6 separate regions of the Homo sapiens genome follow, and regions 2, 3, 4, 5 and 6 are each linked to region 1. Evidence: promoter capture Hi-C in human tissues and cell types (Jung and others, 2019). All regions are on one chromosome and are shown on one strand. Each heading gives the region's core, a stretch centred on a gene start or on the middle of the fragment in contact. The rest is flanking DNA. Distances are from core to core; before and after follow the strand shown. Region 1 holds the start of FGF9 (fibroblast growth factor 9). Region 2 overlaps SACS (sacsin molecular chaperone). Region 3 overlaps SGCG (sarcoglycan gamma). Region 4 holds the start of LINC00621 (long intergenic non-protein coding RNA 621). Region 5 overlaps LINC00621 (long intergenic non-protein coding RNA 621). Region 6 has its middle 45 kb from the start of LINC00621.

What was found. Contacts are between HindIII fragments. The study calls those that stand out against the background at their distance.
Region 2: a fragment that was not itself captured here is called in contact with the fragment with the promoter of FGF9 in region 1 in 1 of the 25 tissues and cell types used here (dorsolateral prefrontal cortex).
Region 3: a contact is called between a fragment that was not itself captured here and the fragment with the promoter of FGF9 in region 1, in 1 of the 25 tissues and cell types used here (lymphoblastoid cells).
Region 4: a contact is called between a fragment that was not itself captured here and the fragment with the promoter of FGF9 in region 1, in 1 of the 25 tissues and cell types used here (dorsolateral prefrontal cortex).
Region 5: a contact is called between a fragment that was not itself captured here and the fragment with the promoter of FGF9 in region 1, in 1 of the 25 tissues and cell types used here (lymphoblastoid cells).
Region 6: a fragment that was not itself captured here is called in contact with the fragment with the promoter of FGF9 in region 1 in 1 of the 25 tissues and cell types used here (lymphoblastoid cells).

What each region holds. Positions count from the first base shown.
Region 1 is chr13:21,669,090-21,672,854 of GRCh38, forward strand. FGF9 (fibroblast growth factor 9) reads left to right here and starts at 1,984. Exons shown (of 3, transcript NM_002010.3): 1 at 1,984-3,100. The coding sequence starts at 2,824. RefSeq lists silencers at 802-1,061, 1,842-1,891, 1,912-1,971. The HindIII fragment of the contact is 7,376 bases long and covers 1-3,765 here.
Region 2 is chr13:23,389,692-23,393,456 of GRCh38, forward strand. All of the region lies in intron 2 of SACS (sacsin molecular chaperone), which reads right to left. Among named protein-coding and RNA genes, the nearest start is that of SACS-AS1, 27 kb to the right of the region's middle. The HindIII fragment of the contact is 6,594 bases long and covers 1-3,765 here.
Region 3 is chr13:23,263,664-23,267,428 of GRCh38, forward strand. All of the region lies in intron 4 of SGCG (sarcoglycan gamma), which reads left to right. It also overlaps the pseudogene SDAD1P4. Among named protein-coding and RNA genes, the nearest start is that of SGCG, 85 kb to the left of the region's middle. The HindIII fragment of the contact is 3,385 bases long and covers 148-3,532 here.
Region 4 is chr13:22,916,351-22,920,115 of GRCh38, forward strand. LINC00621 (long intergenic non-protein coding RNA 621) reads right to left here and starts at 19. Exons shown (of 3, transcript NR_138043.1): 1 at 1-19. It also overlaps the pseudogene NUS1P2. The HindIII fragment of the contact is 8,694 bases long and covers 1-3,765 here.
Region 5 is chr13:22,890,412-22,894,176 of GRCh38, forward strand. The region is part of intron 2 of LINC00621 (long intergenic non-protein coding RNA 621); the gene reads right to left. The region is part of intron 1 of LOC105370109 (a long non-coding RNA gene); the gene reads left to right. Among named protein-coding and RNA genes, the nearest start is that of LINC00621, 24 kb to the right of the region's middle. The HindIII fragment of the contact is 8,684 bases long and covers 1-3,765 here.
Region 6 is chr13:22,869,009-22,872,773 of GRCh38, forward strand. No RefSeq gene overlaps it. Among named protein-coding and RNA genes, the nearest start is that of LINC00621, 45 kb to the right of the region's middle. The HindIII fragment of the contact is 9,156 bases long and covers 1-3,765 here.

The sequences.
Region 1 (3,765 bases), core at 734-3,233:
CATCGCTTTTTTCCCCACTAAGTAACCATCCCGGCGCACTGTACCCAACTGGTCGAGGAACGCCCCTGCTGTACCCATCACTGCTGGCTGCCTCGGAGATTAATGCGAGCGACTCGGGTGGTTTATGAGAAGTGACACTTAATACCCAGCTTCTTGTATCTGCCGCCGAGCAGTTAACGTTAAAGCCCGCTCTGTACCACCGCGGATGTGACTGCTGTAAATACCACGGGGCAGGGCTCTCATGCTTCAGAAACACGTAAGCAAGACGCACCGAGCCAGCCCCGGACACCCAATGACCCTGGACTGCGGCAAAGGGGGGGTGGGAAAGGAAGAGGGGAGGACCACTCGCTCTTCTCTCCTTCCTCCTCGCCCGGGCCGGAGCACGCCTTCCTCCCCGGAGGGCAGGGGAAGGTCGCTCCAGGTCGCTGGCACCTCCAGCGCCCCCGAAATCTGCAAATTCATCGCTCCCTTTCGTCTTCAGGCGAAGCCCTCCCGTCCGGAGTAGGGCCAGCCCCAGTTATGCATCTCCAGCCTTTAGCTGACTACTAAGGCGGATCCGACTTCTCCCCCATAACCAGGTTTTGATTCGCTTCCCCACCGCAGGGGTTCAGTCTCTGCTTTCGACTTTGCTTCTCAGTTGCACGCCCCGCAGTGTGGAGCTGCGCTCAAGTCTCGGCAACTTTCACCATCTTGACCCGAGAGTCGGGCCGTTTCTAAGACAATGTGAACAAAGAGGAGCAGGGGGAGGGAAGGGGGGCCCCGCGGGAGGGCTGTGGGCGAGTGTGTGTGTGTGTGTGTGTGTGTGTGTGTGTGTGTGTGTGTTGGGGGGCGCCGCGCTCCGCGCCCGCCGCCACTGGGGATCCGGGCGCAGGCAGGCTGTCCCGGGCGCAGAGCGCGCCGCCTCCAGTCTCTCTGGCGGGCCCGGCCCGGCAGGGCCCCTGGCGGCCCCCGGAGGCGGGTTTCTTTGTCCCTGACTCCCGCTGGGCGCGAAGGCCGCCGGCGGCTAACAGAAACCCGAGCCCGCGCAACGGAGCTCAGGCTTCCACGTGCGGCCCCGCAGGGCAGAGCAGGAAGGAGCGGCTGCAGCCCCGGGGCGCCCCGCAAGCATCCAGTGCCCGGCCCTCCCAGCTCCGCGGCGGGCTTCGGACGGTGGAGTGAGACACCAGAACTCGCCTTTCGCTTCCCCGAGCCGATGCACGGCTTGGGATGGCGCCGCTCGTCCTAAGCAGCGTGGTTTGAGGGCGAGAAGACGCCTACTGGAGCGCTCCCCTCCACCCAGACTCCCGAAGACGCGCGCCCGAGTCGAAGTCGGGGACAGAGAAGGTTCTCTGGCGCCCCCCTGCCGACTGCTTTGCGGCCGCCGGGACCCGAGCAGCGGGGCGGGACCTAAACATAGCCCCAACCCAAAGATGCCCAGCAGAACGCTCCAAACAAAACAGAAACGGTGGCCGCATCTGCGTGTGTGTGTGTGTGTGTGTGTGTGACGGGGGAGAGGAGTTGATCTTACCTGAAACATAGTTTGCGCTTCTGTGTGTGTGGCCGAAGAATGGAAGAGAAACTGCCATGGCCATCCGAGTCCATTAAATCAACTCCCCTTCCCTCCGACTCTCTCAACTCAGTCATATTCTATAATACAACGCAAGGTTACAGAGCCCCAGTGAAAACTAGTTTCCCAGTTTCACTCTGACCCTCCATCAATGTAGCCAGCCAGCTAGATTGTAGGTTACCGGCTTCTATTCTGCAGGAGAACTTTGAGTCTCGGGAGACTCAGGGTTTCTTCCTCCCGCCTCTCGCAGTGCATCTTTCATTTGCTTTTCTTTGTAAAGCCAGGGCTCCTCGACTGCCTCCCAGGAAGTCCTGCGCTCTGGCGCGCCGCACCTCGCCTGCCGCAGAGCGGCGCGGGCAGTAAGCCGGGCGCTAGGACCGCGGGGAGCCCGGGCTGCGGCGGCGCTACCTTAAACCCAGCCCAATGCCGCTGCCTGCGCCACTCTGCGCGCCGGCGGGGGCTGCGCAGGAGGAGCGCTCCGCCCGGCTACAACGCTCCGCGAGCCGGCGCGGCAACACCTGTTCGCGGCAGCCTGGGCGGCACGCGAGCTCCCGGACGCGGCTCTCCTCGCTCGCCGCTCGCCACCCGTTCTAAGCCAATGGACATCTGCCGAGCCTCTGGAGAATCCTGGATACTAGCTTTGGACGCCTAAAGTTTCTTCTTCTTTTTGTTTTATTATTATTATCATTTTTTGGAGGGGGGACCGGGAGGGGAGATTTGTCGCCGCCACCAACGTGAGATTTTTTTTTCCCCTTGAAGGATTCATGCTGATGTCTGCAGAGTCGGTTAGAGAGTAAAAACAGCGCATGCCTTCCTGGAGTCAGGATCCGTAAATTCTGACGTAGCCCGTGCATCTTAAAAATCCCTATAATAACGCCTAGGCATTTAAGTTGCTATGGTCATTCTGATCTCAAACCAAATGGAGAAACTACGGATTTTTTTTCCTTATTACGGTCGGATGGGATGAAGACCTTCCTGCCTGCTAAGAGCTGGGGATCTATCTATAGAGATACATAGATATGTTTATCAATATGTCAGTGTGTGAGTATAAAGTGGTGGTTTCTTAGACTATCAGTGGTTTGACCTTGAACCTGTGCCAGTGAAACAGCAGATTACTTTTATTTATGCATTTAATGGATTGAAGAAAAGAACCTTTTTTTTCTCTCTCTCTCTGCAACTGCAGTAAGGGAGGGGAGTTGGATATACCTCGCCTAATATCTCCTGGGTTGACACCATCATTATTGTTTATTCTTGTGCTCCAAAAGCCGAGTCCTCTGATGGCTCCCTTAGGTGAAGTTGGGAACTATTTCGGTGTGCAGGATGCGGTACCGTTTGGGAATGTGCCCGTGTTGCCGGTGGACAGCCCGGTTTTGTTAAGTGACCACCTGGGTCAGTCCGAAGCAGGGGGGCTCCCCAGGGGACCCGCAGTCACGGACTTGGATCATTTAAAGGGGATTCTCAGGCGGAGGCAGCTATACTGCAGGACTGGATTTCACTTAGAAATCTTCCCCAATGGTACTATCCAGGGAACCAGGAAAGACCACAGCCGATTTGGTAGGTATACCATTAACCCTTTAGTGTCCATGAGATGACATGTTGAAATTATAACTACCAAGAAGGTGGTGGCCGGGTGGGGGACGTGGGAAGGGTTCTCCCCTCCTCCCCTCTTTCTCTGTATCTCTGTCTCTCTCTCTCTCTGTCTTGCCAGCTCCGAAAAAAAAATGCCTCCGGAATTGCAGATCTGCTGCTGGCACTGATGCAAGTATACACTGAAAGGCCCCCTACTTTTAATTTAAAGGGGGGCATAATTTATAAATATAATACAAGTTTCCAGTTCTTTTGCATCAGATACACGGGTTTAGGAAGTTTCTTTTGAATGGACTGATTGCACGAGTTTAAAGCTTTAATCATTAACTACTAAGAACTTAATGCAGTTTCTTGAAGGCAGTGGGTATCTTGTGCCCAAATTAAGGTTTTTTTCCTTTCCCCCTTTCCTCTAGTAAGTATACTACTTGAATTGTATATTAAGTGCATTGTTTATTCTCCCCTGTGAGGGTCTGAAAGCCCCATAGGCGAAGGTTGCTGACGGATTGTCCTGTTGGGAGGACTAAAGTCATATTTTAGGCTCCGTGAAAAGCAGGGGCAGAGGCTTGGGGGAAAATGACTTGGGAAGAGGCAGGGCGCTCAGGGGTTTTTGTCCTTCCAGCTATCAAGTGATA
Region 2 (3,765 bases), core at 534-3,033, 1.7 Mb after region 1:
TTTGAAGGACACATTTGCTTCCATCCTCTATGCAGATAAAAGAACAAATTACAATGTCTAAAATCTGTTCTTTTTGTATTCTGCATTTAGCCATCATTTTCTTCTACTGTGAGAAGGATCAGTTCTACTCTTTCTGCTTTTTGCTTCTTTTTGCAGGGAGTTGGGGGATGGACAAGGGAGCATTTTAATTTTACATCAAAATGTCAAGTTATTTGGCTGCATCTACATATGCCAGAAGTCACAATAATATGCGACCACTTTTATGCAGCTTTTCTGATATTTATATTTCCTACAATTATGGAGTTTTATATTTTCTACAAATTTTCAATGGATTTGGTTTTTTTTCTATTCACTCTACAAGGGTTTAAAAGTTATTCTTTCTACAGGGTATAGAATTTATTATTTCTATAGAACCTATTTTACTTGGTCTAGGAGCTTCTGTAGGCTTCAAACTGTGTTTGGCTCTGAAAAGAATTAGTGCTTTATTTCTGCAGTATTTTTCTTCTTACTACTGTTCTAAATCACAACATACTAGAAGTAAGAATAACTTATAGTAAAGGTTCACACATAGATCATTTTTCCTGATTAATTAAAAAAAAATCTTCAGTCTGTTTGACTCCAAGTTACCATTTCTACATGGGATTCCACCCCTAAGAGATTTAACAAATGAGATCATTTAAAATCCTGGCTGGGCACAATGGCTCACACTTGTAATCCCAGCACTTCGGGAAGCTGAGGTAGGCACATTGCTTGAGTTCAGGAGTCCTAGACCAGCCTGGGCAAGATGGCAAAACCTCGTCTCTACAAAAAATATAAAAATTAGCTGGGGGACTAATTTTATATTTAGTGTGTGGGGGCACACACCTATAGTCTCAGCTACTCAGAAAGCTGAGCTGGGAGGTCAAGGCTGCAGTAAGCCATGATCATACCACCACACTCCAGCCTGGGTGACAGAGTGAGACCTTGTCTCAGAAAAATAAATAAGAAGTAAATAAGTAAATAAAATCCTAATGTGTTATACTGGGTAATACATTTGTTTTATGTTATTCTCATGAAGAAGCTATCAGTTTGTTTTTCAGTGAAGGCAGCCATCCCTCGTCGTGTCTAAAGAGCACTGATTCCAGTGCCCGCAGATGTTAAGTAGCGAGCGTGTTCATGTGTTGTCATGCCCCTCATTCAGGTGTTTACACTGAGCTCGCTCTGGTGCTGCACACAGGAGTCCCTCCTTCTCCAGCCCAAACCTGCCCTGGGCCACTCTGGGCTTCTCCAGGTGACCACCATGCTGTCTGAGAAACACTACCACACGCCTGCACCCCTCAGTGCAGACGCCACCACAGGCCGTGCCTGGGGACCAGTGCAACACAGGGTCTCTGGGAATTGCTTTAAAATACCAACACAAGGAAAAAGGTCAATATAAACTCATGTGGCGGAATTTCAATCATTGTGGAATCTGCACACTGAGTTTGTGAATGCTCCCAGTGATATTTTTCTATACCTCTGTACATGCCTGAAATTTTTCATGATAAAATTCTTAAAAAGAGGTCAAGAGGCACGGAAGTCAGGCAAAGGATTACTGTCAATTCTGGGTGAAGGAGGTGAACATCCAAGCATCTTTCCACAGACTCCAAATGTCTTCCCTTTGCCCCTGAGGCTCTGCCCACCCAGCTCTCCGGCTCAGGTTGGCCTCTTTGGGCAACAGGGCTGTGGTCACTTTGGTTGCAGGTGGAGTTGGCCCATAAGGAGTCCCCACAGGAGCTGGGAGTAAGGAAGAGAGTACGGTCAGGGAATTCATGCCTCCTGCAGCGTCACCAGGGCCTGGTTATGTCCTTCAGCCCAAGGTCACTGTCCTTCTCAGGGAGCTTGCTCTACATCGGGACTCTGCGCCCTTCAAGGTTCAAGTAATTGCTCCTCCCCTAGTCCCTCGGGTCTAGAGGGTCATGATGCCACAGCTACTACTTTCCCCAAGTTCCAGGATGGCTTCTCATGGTTCCGTTTCCCCCTTTGCACATAAACCCATGATTGATCCTAATTGGACTGTGGGGTGCCTGACCGGTAGAATACTCCACACAGTATGATCGCCTATTCCATCCAGGAGGGAGAAAGGGAATCAAACTGACTGTGACAGGTACAGCATGCCAGATTGGCAGGAAAGTACTGCAAAGTGCCCATCAGTGTGGGTTCCCTCCTTTCCTCCCTGAGTTCCTTCATGTGCACATGGAACATGGATCCCTTACCCTTCAGAAGCTGACAGAGCCAACAATGAGTCACCTTTTGCAGACCAGATGCAGACTGCAAATACTCCAAGGAAGGGCTCAGAATCACGCATGCAGACTGACTTTCCTGTCTCCCAGGATGCAGTAAAATGGAGCCCGGAGCTGGGAGCTGAGGGAAACCAAGTCTACCGGGTCCCCCCAACTTGACGAGGACCTCAGACGGTCAGGAGGCATCCTGTTGCCTTTTGATGACTCTTTTCCTAAAGATACTGTGTGGTACTCATCAGGACTGTAACCGGGCCCTCTCTTTCCATCTTGCATTTCCTATGTAATGGCCAAAGACACTTGGTATGCCTCTCCCCAAAACAGACTATGGCATACTTGGACATATGGAGGGATGACAGTGGCAAAAAGAAAATCCCTGAAATCAACAAAGTGGGATTAGACAGCCAGGTTTGCAACTAACTGCTTATTAGGCTGAGACAGTGGTGGACAGCACCTTTCCTAGAACGCCTGTGAAATGACAGGCACTTTGGGGTGTGAGAGTCATTCACACACTTAGAAAATACAATGCCTCCAATGACTAGGCTTTGTGTTGTTTCTGGAGAAGGGAGTCATAACAACAATGGTTGCCTTTTCTCGAGCACTCATTCTGTGTCAGATACTATGTGAAGTGTTCTACATGCAAAATCCCTAACATTATTTCCTCATGATATGAAAAAAGTAACTGATTCAAGGCCACACGACTAGCAAATGGCAAAGCTGAGTCAAACCAAGGATGTCTGGCTTAAAAGTTTATGCTCTTTCCATTACACAATTTGTTTTCTCCTAAAGGAGGCGGAAGGATATTTGTTGAGAGTTTTGTTTCATTCGGATGCAGAGGTATCTAAGAAAAAGAGGAGGGAGAAGCCATAGAAGGGACAAGACAGGCCCTTCTCTCCCCTCTCCTGGCCACATGTGAAGGACGGGTTTTGAGCCTCTGAAAACATAAGATGAAGCCACAGTGTTCATGAAATACTGGGCAGGACTGAGTTCATGCATAGTCACCTCCCTCCCAGAAAACACAATAAGCACAGACATCGGGAGAGGCCATTCACCAACCCTCACCACCCCACCCACAAGTTGCAGTCACCTTGGGCTCACAGGGTAGTTGGGTGCAGGGCAGTAACGTCTTTCAGAGGGCACCAGCTGCAAAGCCACGGCAGGGCCCCTGGACCAACAGGCTCAAATGGAAAGAACATGAACAAACTTGTTCCTAAGCCCATGTGAGACGTCACCTCTCCAAGGACACCCAGAAATAGCTGGGGAAGAATTTAAGCAGATGAGAGAAGCATGGAGGTTAAGGTCTTGTCAAGCAAGTTTGGAGTTTGGAGCCATGGAGATATGTGTGTAAATATTCACTGACTTTATTTATCCTCATGAACTCCTGAAACCTAGGACAGGTGGAATATGGCTAATCCACTTGTTCCTTCTTTGGGCCCTGGCTCTGTTTCTGGGTTACTGGCACTAGGTCATGGCCCCAAGCCCACGTCCTCCCCTGTCCCTCATCACC
Region 3 (3,765 bases), core at 590-3,089, 1.6 Mb after region 1:
ATATAGATGCAAAAATCCTCAACAAAATACTAGCTGACTGAATCCAACAGCACTCCAAGAAAATCATTCACCATGAGCAAGTTGGTTTCATTCTAGGGATGGTTCAACATATGCGAGTCAAGAAATTTGATTCGTCACCTAAACAGAATTAAAAACAAAAACCATATGATCATCTCAGTAGATGCAGAAAAAGCATTAAACAAAATCTAGCATTCTTTTCTGATAAAAACCCTCAACCAACTAGGCATAGAAGAAATATATCTCAAAATAATAGAAGCCATATATGACAAACTCATGGCCAACATTATACTGGAAGGAAAAAAGTTGAAAGCATTCCCCCTAAGAACTATTACAGAACAAGACGAGGATGCCCATTTTCACCACTTGTATTCAACATCGTACTGAAAGTGCTAGCCAGAGTAATCATTGCAAGATAAAAAAACAAAGGGCATCCAAATTGGAAAAGAAATCAAAGTATCTCTGTTTGCCAATGATGCGATCTTATAGCTAGAAAACCCTACACACTCCTCCAGAAGACTCCTAGATTTGATGAATGAATTCAGTAAAGTCTCAGGTTACAAAAATAAATGTACACAAATTAGTAGCACTGCTATACACCAACAGCAACCAAGCCGAGAATCCAATCAAGAAGTCAATTCATTTTACAATGGTTACAAAAAAAAAATACCGAGAAATATACTTAACCAAGGAGATGAAAGATCTCTGCAAGGATAACTACAAAACATTGCTGAAAGAAATCATAGATGATGCAAGCAAATTGAAATACATCTCATATTCATGTATTAGAAGAATCAATATTGCAAAATGACCATACTGACCAAAGCAGTCTACAAATTCAATGCAATTTCTATTAAAATACCAGCATCATTCTTACAGAATTAGGAAATATAATCCTAAAATTCATACGGAACCAAAAAAGTGCCTGAATAGCCAAATACATCCTAAGCAAAAAGAATAAATCTAAAAATATCACATTACCGGACTTCAAATTATACTACAAGGCTGTAGTAACCCAAACAGCATGGTAGTGGTATAAAAGTAGATACATAGATCAATGGATCAGAATAGAGAACCCAGAAATAAAGTGAAGTACTTACAACTAATTGATCTTTGACAAACCATACAAAAACATAAACTGGGGAAAACACATCCTATTCAATAAATGGTGCTGGGAAAATTGGATTGCCTAGGTCGTGTAGAAGAATGAAACTGGATTTCTACTCTCACCATATACAAAAATTAGCTCTAGATGGGTTTAAGACTTAAATCTAAGACTTGAAATCATAAAAATTCTAGAAGAAAATCTATAGAAAACTCTTCTGGACAATGATTTAGGTGACTAAAACCTCAATAGTAAATGCAACAAAAGCAAAAATAAATGGAACCTAATTAAACTAAAAAACTTCTGCACAGCAAAATAAATACTCATCAGAGTAAACAGACAGCCTATAGAATGGGAGAAAATATGTACTAATTATGCATCTGACAAAGGACTAATATCTAACTTGGGAAAAAAGATTTTTAAAAAAGTTAATATCTGGAATCTACGAGGAAATAAAACAGATCAGCAAGAAAAAAAAAATGAATAATATCATTAAAAAGTAGGCAAAGGGGCCGGGCACAGTGGCTCATGCCTGTAATCCCAGCACTTTGGGAATCCGAAGCAGGAGGATCACGAGGTCAAAACATCAAGACCATCCTGGCCAACATGGTGAAACCCTGTTTCTACTAAAAATACAAAAGTTAGCTGGGTGCAGTTGCACGCACCTGTAGTCCCAGCTACTCAGGAGGCTGAGGCAGGAGAATTCGCTTGAACCTGGGAGGTGGAGGTTGCAGTGAGCCAAGATTGTGCCACTGCACTCCAGCCTGGAGACAGAGTGAGACTCCGTCTCAAAAAAAATAAATAAATAAAATAAGTAGGCAAAAGACATTAATAGACATTTCTCAAAAGAAGATACAAAAATAGCCAACAAATATGAAAATACACTCCATACCACTAGTCATCAGGGAAATGCAAATTAAGACCACAATGAGATACCACCTTATGCCAGCCGGAATGGCCATTATGAAAAAGTCAAAAAACAATAGATGTTGATACGAATGTGGTGAAAAAGGAATGCTTAGACACTGCTGATGGGAATGTAAAATTAGTAGAACCTCTATGGAAAACAGTATGGAGATTTCTCAAAGAACTAAAAGTAGATTTAACCTAGCAATCCCACTGCTGGGTATCTACCCAAAGGAAAAGAAGTCATTATATCAAAAAGACACCTGCACACACATGTTTATCACAGCACAATTCAAAATCACAAAGATATAAAATCAACCTAAATGCCCATCAAACAATGTGTGGATAAAGAATATGTGATATACCTGAGGTCAGGAGTTCGAGACCAGCCTGGACAACATGTTGAAACCCCATCTCTACCAAAAATACAAAAATTAGGTATGGTGGCAGGCGCCTGTAATCCCAGCTACTCAAGAGGCTGAGGCAGGAGAATTGCTTGAACCTGGGAGGTGGAGGTTGCAGTGAGCCGAGATCACGCCACTGCACTCCAGCCTGGGCAACAGAGCAAGACTCTGTCTCAAAAAAAAAAAAAGTGCTATATCACATATATATATATGATATATGTAATTGTGGTGTGTGGATATATACACCATGGAAATATATTCAGCCATGAAAAAGAGTGATATAATGTCTTTTGCAGTGACTTGGATGGAATTGGAGGCCATTATTTTATGTGAAGTAACACTCAGGAATCAAAAATCGAATGCCACATGTTCTCACTTATAAGTGGGAATTAAGCTATGGGTATGCGAAGGCATACAGAGTGGTAAAATGAGCGTTGGAGGCTCAGAAGAGGGGAAAGTGGAGGGTGAGAAGTGGGTGAGAGATGAAAAACTACCTATTGGGTACTATGTACACTACTTGGGTGATGAGTGCACTAAAATCCTAGACATCACAACTATACACACATAACCAAAAACCATTTGTACACCTAAAGCTATTGAAATAAAAGAATAGTAAATAAATAAATTTAAATTCTCTCTTCTCTCTTCTCTCTCTCTTGCTTCTGTTCTTGCCATAAGATATACCTGCTCCCTCTTTTCCTTACACCATGATTGGAAGCTTCCTGAGGCCGTCACCAGAAGTAGATGCTGGCATCATGCTTGTACACCCTGCAGAACCATGAGCCAGTTAAATACCTTTTCTTTGTAAATTACCCAGCCTCAGGAATTTCTTTGTAGCAATGCAATAATGAACTAACACAAATTCCAAAGAAAGTCAAACATTGAAAAGCAAGCACTAGTAACTAGCATTTCAAATCTGTGAAATAAAAGATACCAAATTATAAACAACAGTGGAATCTTACCACTGATAAATACAGCTCTGGTTACTGTTGTTCACTTTCTTTCTATTTCCAATAAGAAAAATCAATTTTGTTAAACTTAAATATGAGACACACCCAGAAAGATGCAAGTTGTGCCCACACAAGTTGATGAAGTTTGGCAGTTGGGTTTTCTGAGACCCACTGAGCCAGGCTGCAGCTAATTTGTCCCAACTGCCTAGCAGCCTGATGCACGAACAGAATCTGATCCACCAGGACCACTGGCCTCTACTCTGAGGAGTGTCTACAGGAGCATGGTCACTACAGACCTGATGTGGAGATTGACAAATTACAACGAAATCAACCCCTGGGGGAGCTGGTGATGTTTGTAGCACACATTGGTCACTGCCACCCA
Region 4 (3,765 bases), core at 801-3,300, 1.2 Mb after region 1:
CTGATCCTGATTTAGTACTGAAGTTCGGTCCTGTGGACAGCACACGAGGCTTTCTTCTCTGGCACATCAGATTGACTGAGATTGTCTCTTTGCCTTCCCATGTAAACATCAGTTATGGGGACTTTTTCTCTGCCCTTCGTCATTATGCAGCCTGTGAACAGCGTCTGGGAAAGTGGTGGTCATTGGTTGCATAATTTGATCTGAGGCTTATGGAGGAAAGGACCCAAGTGACTCTGATGTTTAGAAAGCACCTATGAAACCCTGTACACACCTAGTTCATAATCCTCATAATTTATCAACAAACACAAAGAAGTGTCTTACTTGAGAGTGAGTGTGTGCGTGTGTGCGTGCACACATGTGCACGTTTGTATGTGTGGAAATAAACATAAATGGGGACGTGTTGGAGAAGGAAATACATAGACCTACAACTTTGAGCATATAGCAGTGATGTTTTAGGAACTGAAATGTCACACTTAATAAAGTCTTCAGCCCAGCTACTTCCCTGTTTTCGTGGGGAGAAGGGGGCCTGATTAGAACTGTTCTGGTTGTGTTTGGCGGGAGGGGAATAAATTTTGTTCAGTCCTTCTTAGTGACCAAACTTTAATTTTTAGGAATAACATATTGACTTACTGAACTGAAGCATTCTGAGTTGAAAGGAGCCCCAGAGGAAAGGAGTTCTGTGTTGCTCACATGTTAAAAGCTTGCTCACCTTCAGAGCAGAGGGAATACCTATCTTCAGATATCCGCCCATTTTCATCTCTTCATTATAGTCAAACAGTGTGACTTGAGAGTGTTGCTCTGGTGTCTGTATTCTGGCTTATGAAGATTATTTGAAAAAGAACTCTTACTACATTGAAATGCAGACTTTTAAAAATTTAAATATTGGATTAGGCAGTCAAAAAACCAAACAAGCATAAAAGGTCAGTAAGTTGTAATCTTAAAAGTAAAGGTGGAAAACTCATTATAAATGGAAGAAAAGTTTTGATTTCCTTTTTTGTTTGATGGGCAGTATGCCATATTATATCCAAAGTTGGTTTAAAAAATACTTCCATCAACTATTTTTATTTAAAATAAACATTTGAGGGAAGTTACCAAGGCAGCTTTTTTCCTCAAAAGTAACCTGTTCCTCTTTGGAACAGCACATTTTAGGGGCATGGTTAATACCTGAGATTTTTACTCAGTAAACCTGATGGTTACCGTGTGTAAAATATCTTTAAGTAGGATTGAAGGCCTCTGTGGGGAATATAATGTTACCAAAGCCTATAAAAATAAATTTTACATGTTCTTTTTTATGACAGAGAGCAGCACTGGTTCTGTTATTTTTTAAAATGAATAACTGATTTCTTGACAGGTGTTTAGTATTTCTTCCCTCACTGCTGATTCTTGGATAGAAACCATTCTTTGTATTTGATAGACTGTTTTCAGAAAACTCTTATCAACAAGTGTACAATAGTTATCTAAAACTGTACATTTAGAATGGAGCAGTTTAATACTAGATCTCAGAAATTTGAAAAATAGCAAAGAAGAGTGGATTTGGAAAGCATGGTCTACAATTGCTTGTCAATTCTGAAGCTATGAAGAATAAATGTTTCAGCTTTGGATTATGAAACCCCGTTTATGATTTTTAAAACACACTTGAAATAAAAATGATTGAACTAAATTTTGGTCCGGTGACATCATTTTGCACTGCATAGCCCATTATACATTGTAAGTCTTTTTGTTTTAATTTATTACTGAGAGTTTTCTGTGAAGCTACAGCATATCTAATCAGAGAATTTCTGATTTGTTTCCTTATACTGTGATTATGTTATATTAAGGCATTTGTAGTGCAGCTTAAGACTGAATTTATGCTTTTTGTAAACATGATCGGTGTAAATGTCTTATAAACATTCTGGAGTATGTATAACTTTAATGAATGAAATTTAATGGACCTGATTAAAATAAAGGGATTTAATCTTTGTTAAAGTGAAGTTAGTGGAATAAATTACCTACTGGAATATAGTCCAAGTCACTAAAGGTTTAATATTTGCATTTTTGTGCTTTTATTTTCTCCTTCCATTCATAATTATATACTTGAAAGTACATCTGTAGCCTATGACTTGAGTCTCTTGAACTTCTAGGAAGAGGCAAACTACAAACTACTAGGATTCTGATTTCAGATATAGGCATTCCAGAATCTTCTCTTTACGAGTTCACCTGCTAGTATAATCTCCACAACTTGAATGGCCTTGGTTGTTCTGTAATTGCTGCCAAAATCATCACAAGCTGTACGTCATCAAGGCTCCCTTTGCACTCCCAAGAAGAACTGTTCATTTTAAACAAAAGTGTATGTCTTTATTTGTATTGGAAAATATTGTCTTTAAATTGTTTCTTGTTGACACTTCCCACAATGGAAAAATTACCAAATTAAACCTGTTTTATGGATGGCAGCTTGGAGCATAGCAAGAAGTTGGAGGATTTGAATTCCATTCCCAGTTCTCATTGCGTTTTGTTTCTTAAAACTATAATAATTGGTTACTGTTATAAAGTTTAAAAGGTGGTTTTAATATGAATAGCAAATTCTGGTATATTGTGACTAACGCTTAAGAATGCCTGTCTTTGAGAGGAAGGTGTTATAATATTAATCAACAGTGCCAAATACACTGTGCATATCTACAATTTAATCTTTGAATGTTTGTTACTGGATTAGCTCCCTCCTCCTTCTGTGTGATGGTACCATGCATAGAGTCAATCAAATCCTTGTGATGTTTTGTATGGACTTTGACAACATGTAACTAATGTGTAAAGCAAGTTTTTATGATTAAGGAATCAAATTTATTGAATTTTATTATTGAAAGTTGAAACTTAACATGTATAAACAAAAAACAATAAAATAATAAACTATTTTCATTGACTATAAAAATTATTTATTTTTAAAAATTCATACATAATACTGTATGTATTTGTGGGGTACGTATTGGTGTTTCTATACATACAATGTATAGTAATCAGATCAGGGATATTAGCATATCTGCCATCTGAAATATTGATCATTTTTTGTGTTGGGAGAATTCAATGTCCTCTTTTAGCTATTTGAAAATATATATTCTTGACTACAGTCATCCTACAGTGCTATAAAACATTAGAACTTATTCCACCTAACTGTAATTTTTTGTCCTTTAACAAATCTCTCCCTATATCCCCCTTCCCTTTCCACCCTTGAATAACCTGGATTCTACTCTTTACTTCTATGAGATCAACTATTTTAGCTTCTATATATGAGTGAGAACATGTTTAACTTCCTGTTCCTGGCTCATTTCACTTAACACCATTTCCTCCAGGCTCATCCATGTTTCCATGGAGGACAAGAATTCATTCTTTTTATTGCTGAATAGTATTCCACTGTGTGTGTGTGTGTGTGTGTGTGTGTGTGTGTAGGTGTGTGTATGTGTGTGTATAAAATCATATTTTCTTTAGCCATTCATCTGTTGATGGAGACTTGGGTTGACTCCATAGCTTGGCTATTGTGAATAGTGCTGCAATGGACATGGAGTATGGACAACTCTTGGATGTACTGATTTTCTTTGCTTTGGTTCTTTACCCAGTAGTAGGGCTGCTAGATCATATGCTAGTTCTATTTTTGTTTTTTTGAGGAAACTCTATACTATTCTCTACAGTGGCTGTAGTAGTTTACATTCCCACCAATAGTGTGTAAGAATTCCCTTTTCTCCACCTCCTCACCAGCATTTGTTTTTTGGTTTTTTTTTTGTATTTTTGACAATGGCC
Region 5 (3,765 bases), core at 801-3,300, 1.2 Mb after region 1:
CAATAGCAGTTTCATAACTTTAAATTCATGACTATTACAGTATTCATAAATAATCTAGGTAAATAATTAAAATAGATAATTAGGCAAATGTAATGGGAAAAATACTTGTAGACAAACTGGTCATAATTTAGAATATAAAGTTATATTAAATTAAATAATAGATGTTTCATTACTTGGGTATTTTCCAATAAATATATATTGCAGGAAAACATTCTTGCTAAAAAAAAAAAACAAAAACAGAGAAGTGTGTCCTTTTAAAAAGAAAAGTGAAAAATTTATGTCTAATTCAAAGCTTATTTAAACATTATGTATAAAACAAGGTAAATGGAACCAGGAAATAAAAAATATGTAAAGAAAGTTGTAAAAATAAAGAGGTATTTTTCTGAGGTAAAAAAAGCTTGAAGAAAAATAATTTTATATAAGAAAAAAAGTCTTGTGCCAGGCACCAAATACCCGGCATCATAATTGTTATGTTAAAATTATTGTGTGCCACAGAGGCAACAAATTTCCTTGTCAATTGTGCCTTTCGACTATGGCTGCCTTAAAACTTTTTTTTTCAGCCGGGCTGGTGGCTTACGCCTGTAATCCCTGTACTTTGGGAGGCTGAGACAGGCGATCACGAGGTCAGGAGATCAAGACCATCCTGACTAACACGGTGAAAACCTCATCTCTACTAAAAATAGAAAAAAATTAGCTTGGCATGGTGGCGGGTGCCTGTAGTCCCAGCTACTCAGGAGGCTGAGGCAGGAGAATGGGGTGAACCTGGGAGGCAGAGCTTGCAGTGAGCAGAGATCACACCACTGCACTCCAGCCTGGGCGACTCAGGGAGCCTCCGTCTCAAAAACAACTTTTTTTCATCCATGGACAATTGTTGTCTTGTTTTGGTCCTCTTTAGGAGGTGGTTTTATAATCAGCTATAAAACTCCAATAGGTGCTCTTGAATGCAGGTTTCTGATAACTTTGGAGATTGTGACAACAGAATAGAGGAAGAACCTTCAGGACTCATGGAGAGCTAAATGTTCATGAGTATCAAGCAGGAATTAACAGGAATTAACTGCATGGACTGAACCAATCTTTTTTACTTTTTGCTCAAAATATTTGCTGGTCCTTTGTTTTGCGTTTCCGAGTCTTATGACTTTTCTTTTGAGCTACTGACAGATTTTAACAATTTAGTATACTCCTATGAACAAAATTTGTGGCATAGTTGTTTCTATCTGATTTATCCAGAATTTGGAAACTATTTGTGAGTATTCTTAACTTATGGCAATACAGTTATTTGCATAAGTGCAGTAAGAATCTGTTTTCATTTGTAACAGGACACATTTGGAGAATTTGGTTATTTTACCAAGGCTTTGACTGGAATCATGTGCTTTCCTTATAAGGAATCAAACTTGACTTACGGAGCCAATAAAGCCCTTGGAAAAACTGGCCTCATATTCTGTATACACAGTCCCTGAACAGGGTTTCTGACTGTGTAAGTAAAGAATATCACTTTTTGACAAGTGCAGACGCCCCAGGTTTATCTTGGGCCCTCAAAAGGAGAGGAAATTTCACCCAACTCATGGGTATTTAATGGCATAAATCCATGGCTCGGCTGGGTTTTACGGGTTTTACAAAGTCTTATCTGAGATTCCTGCTATGGAACAAAGTTCCATCAGAGCCTACTTAAAAGCCTAAGTAAAAAATAATCATTCTTGCTGCATTGTATACAAATAGTTAGGCCAAGTATAATAAACAAACCAATCCTACCATGATTTGTCTTTAGTAATATGCGAAACTGAAGAGAGAAAAACAAATTATCTTCTAAAACAATTGTACACCTGTTGTTAGAGTCTAGTCTTGCCTATTTTTTTTCAATTTTTATTATTTTTCTAGAGTTTGGACTGAATTCTAATTTTTCTTGGCTACAAGCCTTCAAAATAATGTTTTCAATTTTTTTCCTTCTTTTTTTTTTCTCAATTTTTCCCAATTTGGAGTCACTGAAAACTAAGCTATGCTTTCTAAAAACCCTGGGAACTGAAGCCAGACAACTTAAACTTCAGAAAAATATAACATAACCTATTTACGTACATAAGCCACTTTCATACCTGCCTACTATTATGGACTGCAGAGTAATGTGGCCTATATCAATTTTTTCAGGATTGTTCTTTTGTTTGTTGTTTTTTTCATCCCTTCCTCCCCCATATTTTCTCTTCACAGGACATGAGACTTCACAACCTGCTAAAAATGAACTTTCCAGACCTACCAATCTAGGAATAAACCGTCCTAGCCAGGAAAGGTCAGATGACCTTTCCTGAGACTGGAGACTCATTCTGTTGTAAAAATGCTTTCTCCAAAGATGTTAAAAAAGAAAAGGGGAAAATGTGAAAGAAAAATATCTTGGGTCCCTTCAAGATGGGAACTGCTCAGGGCAAATCTGCCTTCTATTCTATTCAAGTCATCCATTTGCTCACAGAGACAGATGCATATTCTGATTGCCTCCTTTGGAAAGACTTATCAGAAACTCAAAAGAATGCAACCATCTGTCTCTCACCTACCTGTTACTTCGAAGCCCCCAATAGGGGGTCTTGCTTTGAGCTGTCTCCGCCTTTCCGGACGGAACTAATGTACTTCTTACATAGTGATTGATGTCTCATGTCTCCCTAAAATGTATAAAACCAAGCTGTGGCCGGACCACCTTGGGCACATGTCATCAGGACTTCTTGAGGCTATGTCACTGGGCATGTCTTCAACCTTGGCAAAATAAACTTTCTAAATTAATTGAGACCTGTCTCAAATTTTGGGGGTTCACAGGTGAGTGGGCTCAGGCATGTGCACTAGTATGACTAAAGGTCATAGACTATTAGACTATTAGTCTATGACCTTCCTCTAGAAACACTCGACTGGTAAGGGAAGAATGCCTCAACTGAGCATGTGCACAACTCCCATAAACACACTTGTGCTTGCGGAGCCTCTCAAGTGCTGGCAGGCCACTGCTCAGGTGGATTCTTCCCTCCTACCCGGAGGGAAGAATCAGGGGAGAAGGGACACAAGCCCCTGAATGCATGCCAACACGTAAAACCTCAAATCAAAACTCAAACCATGCAGTTTAACCTCTCAAGTTGCCCACTTGGCCCTCTTCCAAGTGTACTTTACTTCCTTTCATTCCTGCTCTAATACTGTTTAGTACATTTTCACTCCTGCTCTAAAACTTGCCTCAGTCTCTCACTGTGCCTTATGCCCCTCAGCTGAATTCTTTCTTCTGAGCAGGCAGGAATTGAGGTTGCTGCAGACGTGTATGCATTTGCCACCAGTAACATACTTTGGTGCCACATGACTAGGATATGTTCTCTAGTGCTAACATGTTCGTTTACAGTTCTTAGGACTCCCTGATAGAAAAAAACACAAAAAAAAACACAAAAAAACCCAACCAACCAAACAAACAAACAAAAAAAAAACACAGGAGTTTCTCCCAAAAAGAAGTCTGCAGTGTCTTTTCTGTTTTCTCTGAAGGTATCCCAGGGTGTTAGATTTCTGTTGTTTTTCCCTTATGTGGCACCGAAGTTGGCAAGAAGAAGGAAGTGCTGATATAAATAAATAGGGAAATGAACAGAGAGAGTACATGTGGTTAGCAGGAGTTTAGGATGAGAGAAATTTAGTGGACCGAGAAATAGTCTAAATATCAGTTTTAATTTGTGAAAGAAAAATAAAAACCTGGGACCCCAATTCACTATGCCTAAAGGAAAAAAATTAAGCTAAAAGCTGAATCATGCAAGAAGCTGTTTT
Region 6 (3,765 bases), core at 829-3,328, 1.2 Mb after region 1:
GTTACTTTTGGTGGGAAGAAGAGAAGGTTTTGAAATGTAGGGGGACTATAAAGCTAAATGTAAATTATGGCCAGGTTAAAGCAATGAGTAGTAGACTCACAGGTGCTTCTTACCTTAACAAGTAAGCAGTCTGTTGAAAAAAACAAAAAAATTAAGTAAACCAGCACACTAAATTCAGTGTGTTGTGAACATGAGTCACATTCAAAAATTTTTAAGGGGAAGAAATAGCAAATACATGATTTCAGTTTTATGTGGCATTAGTTTATTATGAGATGGATGAATGGATGGATGGATGGATGGATGGATGGACGGAGGACAAAATGGAAAGATTTTAGTGTATCAGTTACTATTTATTGCCTACCTGACATTCAAAGCTGCTTCTTTCTTTCTGACATGATATTGATTTTTTTTTTAGGTATCCACCCTCCTTTATTTAACTCATGCTTGCTTCACAGATTCTAAAAGGCAGGTTTGGATTCCTTTTATGTGTTCATAAGGGCCCCACTCCCTTTGCAGCTAATTGATGTAGACAAGCAATTAAGTGGTTCTTGCTAAACAGATTTGAATGTTACTCTACTAAGAATCTTCTGAAAATGTATCTTCATTCTTTTTTTTTTTTTTTTTTTTTTTTTTTTTGAGACAGAGTCTTGCTCTATCGCCCAGGCTGGAGTGCAGTGGCACAATCTCCACTCACTGCAAGCTCCGCCTCCCGGGTTCACACCATTCTCCTGCCTCAGCCTCCCAAGTAGCTGGGACTACAGGTGACTGCCACCACACCCGGCTAATTTTTTTGTGTGTGTTTTTAGTAGAGATGGGGTTTACCATGTTAGCCAGGATGGTCTTGATCTCCTGACCTCATGATCCGCCTGCCTTGGCCTCCCAAAGTGCTGGGATTACAGACGTGAGCCACTGTACCTGGCCCCCAGTATCTTCATTCTTAAGAAGGTACATTATTTTATTTTTTGCCTATCAATGCTTCCTAGCCTGGAGGATATGAAAATATATCTAAATCAACTGCAAGGACCATGCCACCTTTAGAGAGTGATCTAGAAGATCAAGCCCACACATTGAGTTTGGCAGAGAAGAAAGAGGGCCTTAGCCTTACTGAACTGCTGGACTTAAAAAACCTTGGACCTAACCTGCCTTTGCACTTATTTTGACATTTACTTTCCTATTAATCCAGTTGATTTTTTTTAACTTACAATGTAGATATATAGATGATACATAAATCACTTTAAATGACAGGTTAGAAAACATTTACTTCAAGTAGCCATATTATATGGTGAATACTGTCAAAAGATTCAAAATCATTATGTGATGGGCCTGGCCAAGACAATGGTATGCATCAGGGATCTGGAAGAACCAGCACATTCAAATTGGGCAGGCTGAGACCAGCTTACAAAGGTCTGGGTAGGATGCAGGGAATTCCCAAGTGATATGGTTCGGCTGTGTCCTCACCCAAATCTTATCTTGCATTGTAGCTCTCATAATCCCTGTGTGTCATGGGAGGGACCCAGTGGGAGGTATCTGAATCATGGGGGCAGGTTTTTCCCATGTCGTTCTCATGATAGTGAATGTCTCACTAGATTGGATGGTTTTATAAAGGGCAGTTCCCCTACACATGGTCTCTTGCCTGCCGCCGTGTAAGACATACCTTTGTTCCTCCTTCACCTTCCTCCATGATTATGAGGCTTCCCCCGCCATGTGGAACTGTGATTCCATTAAACCTCTTTTTCTTTATAAATTACCCAGTCTCGAGGTATGTCTTAATGCAGTGTGAGAATGAACTAATATAGTAAACTGGTACCAGTAGAGTGTGGTGCCGCTGTAAAGATACCCAAAATGTGGAAGTGAATTTGGAACTAGGTAACAGGCAGAGGGTGGAATAGTTTGGAGGGCTCAGAAGAAGAAAGGAAAATGTGGGAAAGTTTGGAACTTCCTAGAGACTGTTGAATGGCTTTGACCAAAATGTTGATAGTGATATGCACAATAAAGTCCAGGCTGAGGTGGTCTCAGATGGAGATGAGGAACTTGTTGGGAACTGGAGTAAAGGTCACTCTTGCTATGCAAAGAGACTGGTGACATTTTGCCCCTGCCCTAGAGATCTGTGGAACTTTGAACTTGAGAGAGATGATTTAAAGTATCTGGTAGAAGAAATTTCAAAGTGGCAAAGTGTTCAAGATGAAGCAGAGCTTAAAAGTTTGAAAAATTTGCAGCCTGACAATGCAGCACAAAAGCAAAACCCATTTTCTGAGGATAAATTCAAGCCAGCTGCAGAAATTTGCATAAGTAACAAGGAGCCAAATGCTAATCACCAAGACAATGGGGAAAATATTTCCAGGGCAAGTCAGAGACCTTTGCAACAGCCCCTACCATCACAGGCCCAGAGGCCTGGGAGGGAAAATGGTTTCCTGGGCTGGGTCCAGGGCCCGCCTGCTGTGTGCAGCCTTTAGACTTGGTGCCCTGCATCCCAGCTGCTCCAGCCATGGCTAAAAGGGCCAAGGTACAGCCCAGGCCGTGGATTCAGAGGGTGCAAGCCCTAAGCTTTGGCAGCTTCCACATGGTGTGTTGAGCCTGTAGGTGCATAGCAGTCAAGAATTGAAGTTTGGAAACCTCTGCCTAGATTTCAGAGGATGTATGGAAATGCCTGGATGTCCAGACAGAGGTGTGCTGCAGGGGCAGAGCCTTCATGGAGAACCTCTGCTAGGGCAGTGTGGAAGGGAAATGTGGGGTGGAAGCCCCTATACAGAGTCTCCATTGGGCACTGCCTAGTGGAGCTGTGAGAAGAGGGCCACTGTCCTCCAGACCCCAGAATGGTCGATCCACTGACAGTTTGCACCATGAACCTGGAAAAGCCACAGCCACTCAATGCCAGCCCGCGAAAGCAGCTGGGAGGGGAGCTGTGCCCTGCAAAGTCACAAGGATGGAGCTACCCAAGACCATGGGAACCCACCTCTTGCATCAATGTGACCTGGATGTGAGACATGGAGTCAAAAGAGATCATTTTGGAGCTTTAAGATTTGACTGCCCTGCTGGATTTTAGACTTGCATGGGGCCTGGAGCCCCTTTGTTTTGGCCAATTTCTCTTATTTGGAATGGGAATATTTATTCAATGCCTGTACCCCCATTGTATATAGAAAATAACTAACTTGCTTTTGATTTTACAGACTCATAGGCGAAAGGGACTTGCCTTGTCTCAGATGAGACTTTGGACTTGGACTTTTGGGTTAATGTTGAAATGAGTTAAGACATTGGAGGACTGTTGGGAAGGCATGATTGTATTTTGAAATGTGAGGACATGACATTTGGGAGGGGCCCAGGGAAGAATGATATGGTTTGGCTATGCCCTTCCCCCAAAATCTCATCTTGAATTGCAGCTCCCATAATCCCCATGTGTCATGGGAGGGATTCAGTGGGAAGTAATTGAATCATGCGGGCGGGTTTTTCCCATGCTGTTCTCATGATAGTGAATAAGTCTCATGAGATCTGATGGTTTTATAAAGGGCAATTCCCCTGCACATGCTCTCTGTCTTGCCACCATGTAAGATGTGCCTTTGATCCTCCTTCACCTTCCTCCATGATTGTGAGGTCTCCCCAGCCATATGTAACAGTGAGTCCATTAAACCTCTTTTTCTTTATACATTACCCAGTCTCAGATATATCTTTATTAGCAGCCTAAGAATGGACTAATACACCAAGAGAGAGTATAATGCCCCAGGGCCAGGGCCACTGTGACCTGTGGTAACAATGGATGGGCACAGTTAC